2 separate regions of the Homo sapiens genome follow, and region 1 is linked to region 2. Evidence: promoter capture Hi-C in 16 types of primary human blood cells and fetal thymus (Javierre and others, 2016). All regions are on one chromosome and are shown on one strand. The core of a region is centred on a gene start or on the middle of the fragment in contact, and the rest is flanking DNA. Distances in the headings are between cores, read along the strand shown.

Region 1 (4,614 bases), core at 1,683-4,182, 520 kb after region 2:
TAAGGCCTCAACTCTGGGACAGTGGGAACCAAAGGAAAAGGACTCAGGAGCAACAGCTGTGGAAAGGGAAGGAACCACTCACCATCCTCAGTGGTGTCACTGTCACCCATCGCTGAGCTATCCAGATCCTTCTGGGGTGGCAGCAGGGTGGGGCCTGAGCGATGGACCATCTTCTTCTCCACCCAGCCCCTCCGGCGCAAGAGACACCGGATCACCGGGTAGCAGCCTTGGATTGTAAAGATCTTCTTCTGCTGCAATGTGAGAGAAGGATACTTCTTCAATAAGTATTGCATAAGTGCCAGACATAGGGGATATAAAGGTGAACCAGACAGTTATGGACTCTGCCATCAGGAAATTTTTATATTCCATTAGGAGAAATAAACAGACTATAAATAAGTAGAGAAATAAATATGCATGGTAATAATGATAATAGCAATGGCTAATATTTATTGAGGACCTACTACATGCTGAGCACTTACATGCATTACTAACAATACTGTGTGTTTTTATTTTGTTTTGTTTGAGACAGGGTCTCACTCTGTTGCCCAGGCTGAAGTGTAGTGGCACAATCTCGGCTCACTGCACCCTCTTCCTCCTGGGTTCAAGCGATTCTCTTGCCTCAGTCTCCTTGAGTACCTGGGATTACAGGTGTATGCCACCACGCCCAGATAATTTTTTTTTTTTGAGACGGAGTCTTGCTCTGTTGCCCAGGCTGGAGTGGCACAATCTTGGCTCACTGCAACCTCCACCTCCCGGGTTCGAGCGATTCTCCTGCCTCAGCCTCCCCAGTAGCTGGGAGTACAGGCGTGTGCCACTGCGCCCGGCTAATTTTTGTATTTTTAGTAGAGACAGGGTTTCACCATATTGGCCACGCTGGTCTTGAACTCCTGGCCTCAGGCCAAGGCCCGCCTTGGCCTCCCAAAGTGCTGAAATTACAGGCGTCAGCCACCTCATCTGGTGCCCAAATAATTTTTATATTTTTTGGTAGAGACTGGGCTTCACTGTGTTGGCCAGGCTGGTCTCCAACTCCTGGCCTCAAGTGATCCTCCTGACTTGGCCTCCCAAAATGCTGGGATTACAGGTGTAAGCCACCGCGTCTGGCCAATACTATGCATTTTTATTAGATACTGTTATCTCCATTTTACGGGCTATGAAACAGAGGCATAGAGAAATTAAGCAGGGTGCCTGAGGCCCCATAGTGGTTAAGCAAAAGAGCAGGGATTTACATCCTGGCAGTTTGGCTCCAGAAACTGCATACTTAATGGGATCCAGAGAAACTACTTAGAAATACATGGTCAGGGAAGGTTGAAAGGAAGCCATGAATGTACAGAGCTGGGAAATGGCGGTTCAGGCAGAGGGGAATGCATGTGCAAAGGCCTTGAGGCTGGAGAGAGGTCAGAAGGAACTGAAGGGAGACCAGAGTGAGTGGAACATGGAAAATGATGGGGAAAGCCCCAGAGGAGGTAGGCAGTGGCCAGACTGTGGAAGGCCCTGCAGGCCTTGGAACGGACTTGGATTTCATACTAAGAGTGTCATGAGCAAAAAAGGCTAACTGAGGGAATCTTTCTAAGCTTGGCTTGCTGCTGTATTACAAAAAGATGAGGGGACAGGATGGAGGTAGACCAGCTAGGAGGCTGTCATAGTTTGCCTAGGAGAGAAATCACAATTACTAAAATGAAGGTGGTTACAACACAGACGGGAGAAGGTGCTAGAGTTGAGAATCGTTTTGGAGGTGGAGATGACAAGTGGTTTTGCTGATGGAATTAGACCTGTGGGTGAAGAAACAGAAAGATGAGATTTCTGGCGTGAGGAACTGAGAGATGGGAAAGACTGGAGACTGGGGAGGACGACAGGTTTGGGCAGGAAGATCAAAGTCTGGTTTGGGACATGAATTTGAAATGCTTGTTAAGTTTTCTGGGTGTAGATGACAGGTAGGGGCTAGATCTACGGGATGTGGAGTTCGAGGCTGGGCTGGAAGGGGCACGGAGAGGGTGCAGCACACTGACTGGACTCAGCCAAGGACACAGCCAAAGGAGACAGACCTGGGGAAGGGGCCAGGGGGCCACTAATGGCTGAGGAACCTTTAAAGGCCGCTGAAAAGCAGCAGCCAAAGAGGGAGAAAGGAAAACTAGGAGCGTGCAGTCAGACAGCCAAGAGGAAGGGTGTGTGGGGCAGCGGTGTCGAAAGATACAGGGTGCCCAACCGAGATCAAGACCGAAAGGCACTGCTGGGTTTGGCTCCCTGGAACTCACCAGGCACCTTGATTAGAGTGGGACATCGCAGGGAACCAGAGTGGAGGGAGCCCAGAAGTTTGGTGCTGAAGGGGTAAACGGGGAGGTAGTTGAAGATGGGTGTGGTGGTTGAGGATTTTTGCTATTGTTTTTTCTTTTGCTTTTGTTTTTTAAGGATATAAGAAAACAGCGCAGGGAGACAGGCTGAGCCGCTCCCAGGGCCCTTTCTAAGCGCCCCTGCCCCTCCTCTGACCTTGACAGCTCTCTCCACGTAGATTTTGGCGTTTCTGAGCCGGTTCATGTGAGACGCCTTGGAGGATCCTCGCCAGAGGACCGGGAAACCTGCAGAAAGATGCGGAATAGGGGCGGGGTACACTGAGGCTGGGCCTAGGGTCTCGGCCTAGGATCTTTTCTGGCCGCCCATAGCCACGCCTCTTTTCTTCCTCCTGCCTTCATCCAGATGCCCACCCTCAGCCGCTCTTCTCCCGACCCCCAGTCCCTCCACCCCAGCGTCTTGTCGTCCTCGCAGCCGCTGTAGGCCAGAGCGAGCGGGCCGCACGGGCCTCACCATCCTGCGGAGAGGGGTCGAGGACCGGGGTGTGCGGGGGGCCGAGGGGGTGGGTATCCGAGGCGCCCTGGGCGTGGGTGCCTGGGACCAGCGTCTTGAAGGCGCCGCTGAGGCGGCGCGCAGGGGCGGGGCTGCCCGCCTGGCATCTGCCGCCTGCGTGACCCTCCTCGGACTGGGCGGAGGCAGGGCCGGCCCATGGCAGCCTCCTGGGTGGACGGAACTCGGAGCGGCGCGCCGAGGGGAAACTGGTGCGTGGCTCGAGCGGCTGCGGCTTCCGCAGCCAGTTGCACACCGCGCCGCCCTCCTGGCGGTACCAGGAGGCCGAGCCCCGGCGCCCGGGCCCCAGCTCCCTCGCGCTCAGGAGCAGTGGCGCGTCGGGGCCCTGCATGCGCCCCTCGCCGCGCTCGCCCTCCCAGGGCCCCTGATCCCGCGCCCCTCCGCGTCGCCGCCTCCTCTCCCGGGAAGTTCCTGCCTAGGCTCGAGCCTTGTCCTCCGTTCCAAGCCCCGCCCCGTTTGCTATTGCCTTGGAAACCATTCCCTGGGCACCATCAGACCGCTCGGGGCTGGTTGGGGGCTGCGATGGGCCCCGGGGCAGTCGAGCGAGGGCTTCCTTATGACCTGGGGCCTCACCCAGACCCTTGATGAGCAGGGCACTGAAGGCGGAAGAGAGCACTGAGCCCCAGTTAGTTAGTGTTGCGGTTCCTTATCCAGTACTTCCTGGTGCCACCGGCCCTAGGGTTTGAGTGATTCCACAGTATTTATAGGCGCTAACAAATGGCCCCTGACCTCATGGAGCTTACTAAAAGCCCAGTGTGAGGGGAATAAAAAGCAAGTAACAAAGGAAGAGAATAGTTTACAGGTATAATAAGGGCAATGAACAAGCAGAGGTGAAACCAGGAAGGGGGCGCATTTTAGATAAAGTGGCGCATTTAAGCTGAAGGTGTAAATGCCAGGAGTCAGGAGTCACCAGGGAAAGGGGAGGAACTGCACTTCAGGGAAGGGACAGTCCCAGCAACAGCCCTGAGAAGGGTAAGAACCTCTGTGCGAACTACAAGACAGCCAGGGTGGCTGGAGCCTGGTGAGGCCAGATCAGACCTGCTGGGCCTGGCAGATGGGCCTAGGGTAAGGTCCTTAGCGAGGGCAGCATATGGGGGTAACAAGAAGGTGCAGAGCACACCCTCCCCAGAAACTGGAAATGGAAAAACAATCATTTGAGTCAACTGCGAAAGAAATGTAATAGTTCACAACAGTTATGCCTGGCCCCCAGGCTAAGACTGTAAGCAACCTTTTTGGAAGCACTGGCAAAATATTATCCTCAAAAGTCACAGGGGAGGTAAGGCTCCAAGATGTTAAACAATTTGCCTCAAATCACAGAGCAGAGGCAGCACTGGAACCCAGGTCTGACTCCAAAGCCTGTCTCTTAAACACCTGTTATCACTCAGGTTGCCTGCCAGTCACAGAAGGACCACACAGGGACAGTTTGAGAGGCAAACTCTAGCAGTGCCCCCGCAGGCAGAGTCGAAGAGTGTCCTGGTAAGAGCCCAGCTTTGTCAGTCACTGGGTAGATGTGCTCTTAAGAGTGAAGGTGGATCCCCCACCTTCCTGTCCAGCTGACCCCAACTCCCCTTTAGCTGATGGCTGGACTTCCCGAAAAGCATGCCCCCCAGGAAAGGTGATTTAGGGAATTTGGACCCTGGGAGAGAGATACATGACAAATGAGGTTTGTGGCTGGCTCACCCAGGCAATGCTGTCCTGTGAGGGTTGTTGAGTGACCAGCTGCTATATCCTATTAGTCACCCAGTTTCACTGTGAGCA
Region 2 (4,191 bases), core at 743-3,242:
GGCGCCAACGCCGCCTTGTTTTCTCCACCTCTGACTCCACTCCGAGTTGGGGCTGGGACGAGAGGAGGAGGCACCTTTGTCCCAAGTCCCATCAGACTCTTGAGATGACAGGCACTGCTGCCCCTCCCAGGAGTCCAGAGAAGGGACACCTCTCTTCCAAGTGAGGGTCCCGTCCCTCTGCACCCTGTGAGGCAGGACAGAGGACAACCAGAGAGCTAGTGTGGCTTGTCCACAGTCAAGGCACCAGATGTGGCAGAGCCAGGATGCAAGTTGGGTCTTTCTGCCTCCAAGTCCAGTGCTCTTTCCACTAGCCTTGAAGACTCAATGACCAGCCTCCTCCCATTCTTCAGCGGAGGAAACTGAGGCCCCAGGACGTGTGGTTCACAACTGAGACAGAAAATGAAAGAACTTGCTGTTTTGTGACTCAGTTCCACACACCCCAGAATCCCACTGGGGCTGGGTTTGGCCATCTGATTCCAGCCTCGTTTTTTGGTTTTGTGTTTTCAAAGCACAAATAAAGAAATAAACAAAATCCCCCAGGAAATAAGAGACCCCAAAGCAAGCTCCAATAACTGGCCGGCCAGGGCTTTGAGTCTATACTCGAGTGTTTACCTCCCAAATGCATGAAGGAAAGAAACGCTGGGTACAAACGACCTCCGTTCACATTGTCCAGGCTTCCAAGTGTAGCCGTGTGTCTGTCTGTGTGTGCCATGTGGCTCCCGGCCTCCCCGTGGCATGCAGCCCGCCCCCGAATGTCATCTGTCCGCCAGCTCCCATGTGCTTTCTGGCTGCCTCTGCTCTGCACCTCAGAAAGCCCTGGGTTGGCTTTGGTTTGCTTTGCTGCCTTTGGTTTGATGTTCCCGTTCTGTTTGGCCCTCATGTGTCTCTCTCATCCCAACTCATCCAACCGTCTCTCCTTTCTGTGCCTTTTCTGTTTGTGACACGTAACATGTTCCATGTTGTATGGTTTCTTAACTGTGTGTGGTTTTCCTAAGATGAATTTTTTTAATAGCCTCTCCTCTTTCCTACTTGATTCCCACCTGGTCCTCCTCCCTGTCTGCATGGTTGAACCTCTGCTTTAAAGTGAACAAGGCTCAGTCTCTCACTAGGTGTGGGTGCCCGCAGGAGTCGACTGTGCTTCCTTTAACCACTGTTCCCCATCATCTCTTTGATGGTGCTTGGTGATTCCTCCTGTCCTAACACTAGTTTCTACCAAAACCAAAGAGATTTTTAAAAACCAGCTCAAGGATGCCTATAACCTGAGCCCCCTTTTTCACTCTCCCCCATCCTGTCAATGCTAATAACACCCAGCGACTATGGATTCCAGCCACCTGCTTTGCCCTAACCCTTCTCCCACCCGCCCCTCCTGTGAGCCCCCCGAGCCTGGCTGTGGTCCCTGGGCAGTGCTCCTGACCCCTGTGCTTCCCTTGCAGATCCGCGTCGTGAAGGCGTTCCGTAGCTCTCTCTATGAAGGTTTAGAAAAGCCTGAATCTCGAACCTCCATCCATAACTTCATGGCTCATCCTGAATTCCGGATCGAAGATTCCCAGCCCCACATCCCCCTCATTGATGACACCGACCTGGAAGAAGATGCCGCGCTCAAGCAGAACTCGAGCCCGCCGTCATCCCTCAACAAGAACAACAGCGCCATCGACAGTGGGATCAACCTGACGACCGACACAAGCAAATCAGCTACCTCTTCAAGTCCAGGGAGCCCCATCCACAGCCTGGAGACGTCGCTTTAGCTGAGGACCCTCTCGCCTGCCCGCCCGCCCTCATGGACCCCGCTGCCACCCGCTTTCCGGGCACCCATCCATCCAGGCACCCAACTCACCCAAGCAGCAACGAGCAACAATCGGAAACCAAATACTGGAGAGAAAACCAACGTTTCCACCCACAGACCCTTTCTCTGGCTGCGATGCTGTTTGAACTCTTTTTCACTTCAAGGCAAGGGGCGGGATCTCCACTGGGGGCTTACGGGAGTGAGCGGTTTTCCCAAAACAAGCCCTTCCTGGCTCCCACCCAGACATGGACCAGCCATGCACCCGCCCAGCCACCACGTCCCCCGCATGAATGTACTGTACACTTTCAATCCTCCCCTTGTTTGGTTTTTGGGGGTTGGGGAGGGGTTTTTGTTTGTTTGTTTGTTTTCTTAGGCGGGAACTGCAAACAGACTCTTTTCTGAGACTATTTATCCAATCCACTGGTCTGTGAGTTTTTGAAATGCTTGCACAGCATGGTCTCAGTTGTATAGATTAATTTAATAACTTTTTGAAATTGCAGAGCTTAACTCGCCTAGTAGATTTGCACCAATGGAACCGAAGAACTTCATAGACACTCACAAGGTTATATCCATTTCTTTGTATCTATATCAACGTATACTTTTCCGAGACTGTATACGTCCATATAGATAGGTAGATATATATATATATATATAAATATATATACATGGATATATAAAGTTTCTTTGCCGGCATGTTGCCTTGTTTCCGCTTAAATTGCTCTATTTTAACTTATTTATGTCCTAAAAGAAGAATGTAATTTGTTTACAAACCTGTAGATAACGTCTTTGGCTATTTGTATGGTTTAAGAACACTGGTGGCTGAGATGCTATAAAAACAGCTCGGCCCAACAGACACTTCCCCTGGGTTGCATCCTGGATGTTTTATGATAGCCATGCTCTGATTTTTGCCTGCTATTTCCGTTCAATAATGTCACTACCGTGAGAGGCTCAGGCAGAAGCCAAATGCTACCGAGTTGCCATCCTGAGGGGTTTAACAACATGCTCCGTAGACGAAGGGAGAGGAGGAGAGAAGGCTTCCTGGGTTTGCAACACTAACGGCCATCCGGCCCAAGGATGCCAGGATCTGCAAAGCACTGCTCGAAGACTTTTCTCTCAATGAAACTCGCTTGAGTTTACTAAGAGCATTTCAAAAATAGGTTCTCTTTGGCACTGTCTGTACAGAGATTGAGGTAGTGTTGAAATATTATAAATGGTATTGTGTTGATTTTTTTTTTTATTTAGTAACTTACAGGTTTGTTTCCTTATTAATGGCAGCATCTGAGCTGTTGGCATATTGGATGAGGATCAGTATGGCTTGCTGCTTTTATTTTTATTTTTGAAGAAGAATAGCCTTTTTCTCTGCACTATTTAGATCCGAATGAACCTTATGATGTGTATATTGAGATGTACTCAGTGTGATTTTAAACCAAATTGTCTTCCTGTAGTCACAATATATACTGTAGCCTTTTAACAGCAAGTCTTGCTTTCCCAAACAGAAAGCCATTCTGAAACCCTACAGTATCACAGGTGAGAAAAGGTGGTTATTTTTTCCCCAAGACAACAGCACTAGTAATCCCACTTAATAAGAGCTTATTTAATTGGATGTCAGCCTCTTAACTGCTAAGCACTTTGTGGGTCTCAGCGTTTTTCATAAAAGAACTTTTGTATTTAATACAAAGTTTGCTTTGAGACTTTTCAGCATATGATCTTTTTTCCATAAACTTGTACAGTGCAAAAGACATTTTGAATACCATGATCGATGATGTCCCATGCTTCGAGGAAAACCAAACACTTTCCGCCTCTCTTGCAAAATCCATTCCTCATGCTGACCCTCCTCACGATGGCTGTGTCAGCCCAGCCCCTTCCCTTCTCCAGGCCCAGAGAACTCTTCCACAAACAAGATGAGAGCCACTCGGGAAAAGAGCCATAGTCAACTGGGAGGGCCTACATCTGGATGGCGGTGGAAAAACTTGAGGGTTTGGGGTTCAAAGTCAGCCCATCCCACCTGGCAAAATCCTCCTGGAAGGAGGACCTTCAAGAGCGCATCACCTGAATGTCGTGAAGAAGTATCTCTGAATGTATCCAGGAGAGGAACTGCATAACCAAAGGGGTGACCAGCCCTCAGATGTGCTTATTGGATTCCAGTACAAACGCCACCAAAGCCAGCCCACTGCTCTCCTACAAGGAAGGAAAGATCTGCACGTGTAAAACATGGGGCAGCCTTGGAACATGGTGTTTTTTGGAGTTTCCTTTCTCACAGTTTTCCATCTCCCCACTTCTTTGATCAGTCATGTGTCCGTGACCTCGTTCCATGACATCAGGATAGCTGTGTTTGCACACCATGCTCCATGTTCATTCGGAGCCAGGAGGGGTTCTCAGTGGAGCCTGGCTTAGGGAACAGGGAGCGA

Evidence for each region. Contacts are between HindIII fragments. The CHiCAGO score rates a contact against its expected background, and 5 or more counts as called.
Region 1: a contact is called between the fragment with the promoter of TTLL3 here and a fragment that was not itself captured in region 2, in 8 of 17 cell types (erythroblasts, fetal thymus, total CD4 T cells and 5 more). The highest score is 7.8, in erythroblasts.

The regions. Positions count from the first base shown.
Region 1 is chr3:9,808,580-9,813,193 of GRCh38, reverse strand. It overlaps TTLL3 (tubulin tyrosine ligase like 3), which reads right to left and starts at 2,932. Exons shown (of 14, transcript NM_001387446.1): 1 at 2,800-2,932; 2 at 2,485-2,573; 3 at 83-251. The coding sequence starts at 2,532. ARPC4-TTLL3 (ARPC4-TTLL3 readthrough) reads right to left here. Exons shown (of 12, transcript NM_001198793.1): 5 at 83-251. RefSeq lists a silencer at 2,751-3,230 and an enhancer at 3,711-3,860. The HindIII fragment of the contact is 3,571 bases long and covers 1,574-4,614 here.
Region 2 is chr3:10,326,368-10,330,558 of GRCh38, reverse strand. It overlaps ATP2B2 (ATPase plasma membrane Ca2+ transporting 2), which reads left to right. Exons shown (of 23, transcript NM_001001331.4): 23 at 1,434-4,191. The coding sequence ends at 1,745. It overlaps MIR378B (microRNA 378b), which reads right to left and starts at 330; the gene lies at 274-330. RefSeq lists an enhancer at 1,727-2,275. The HindIII fragment of the contact is 4,701 bases long and covers 1-4,191 here.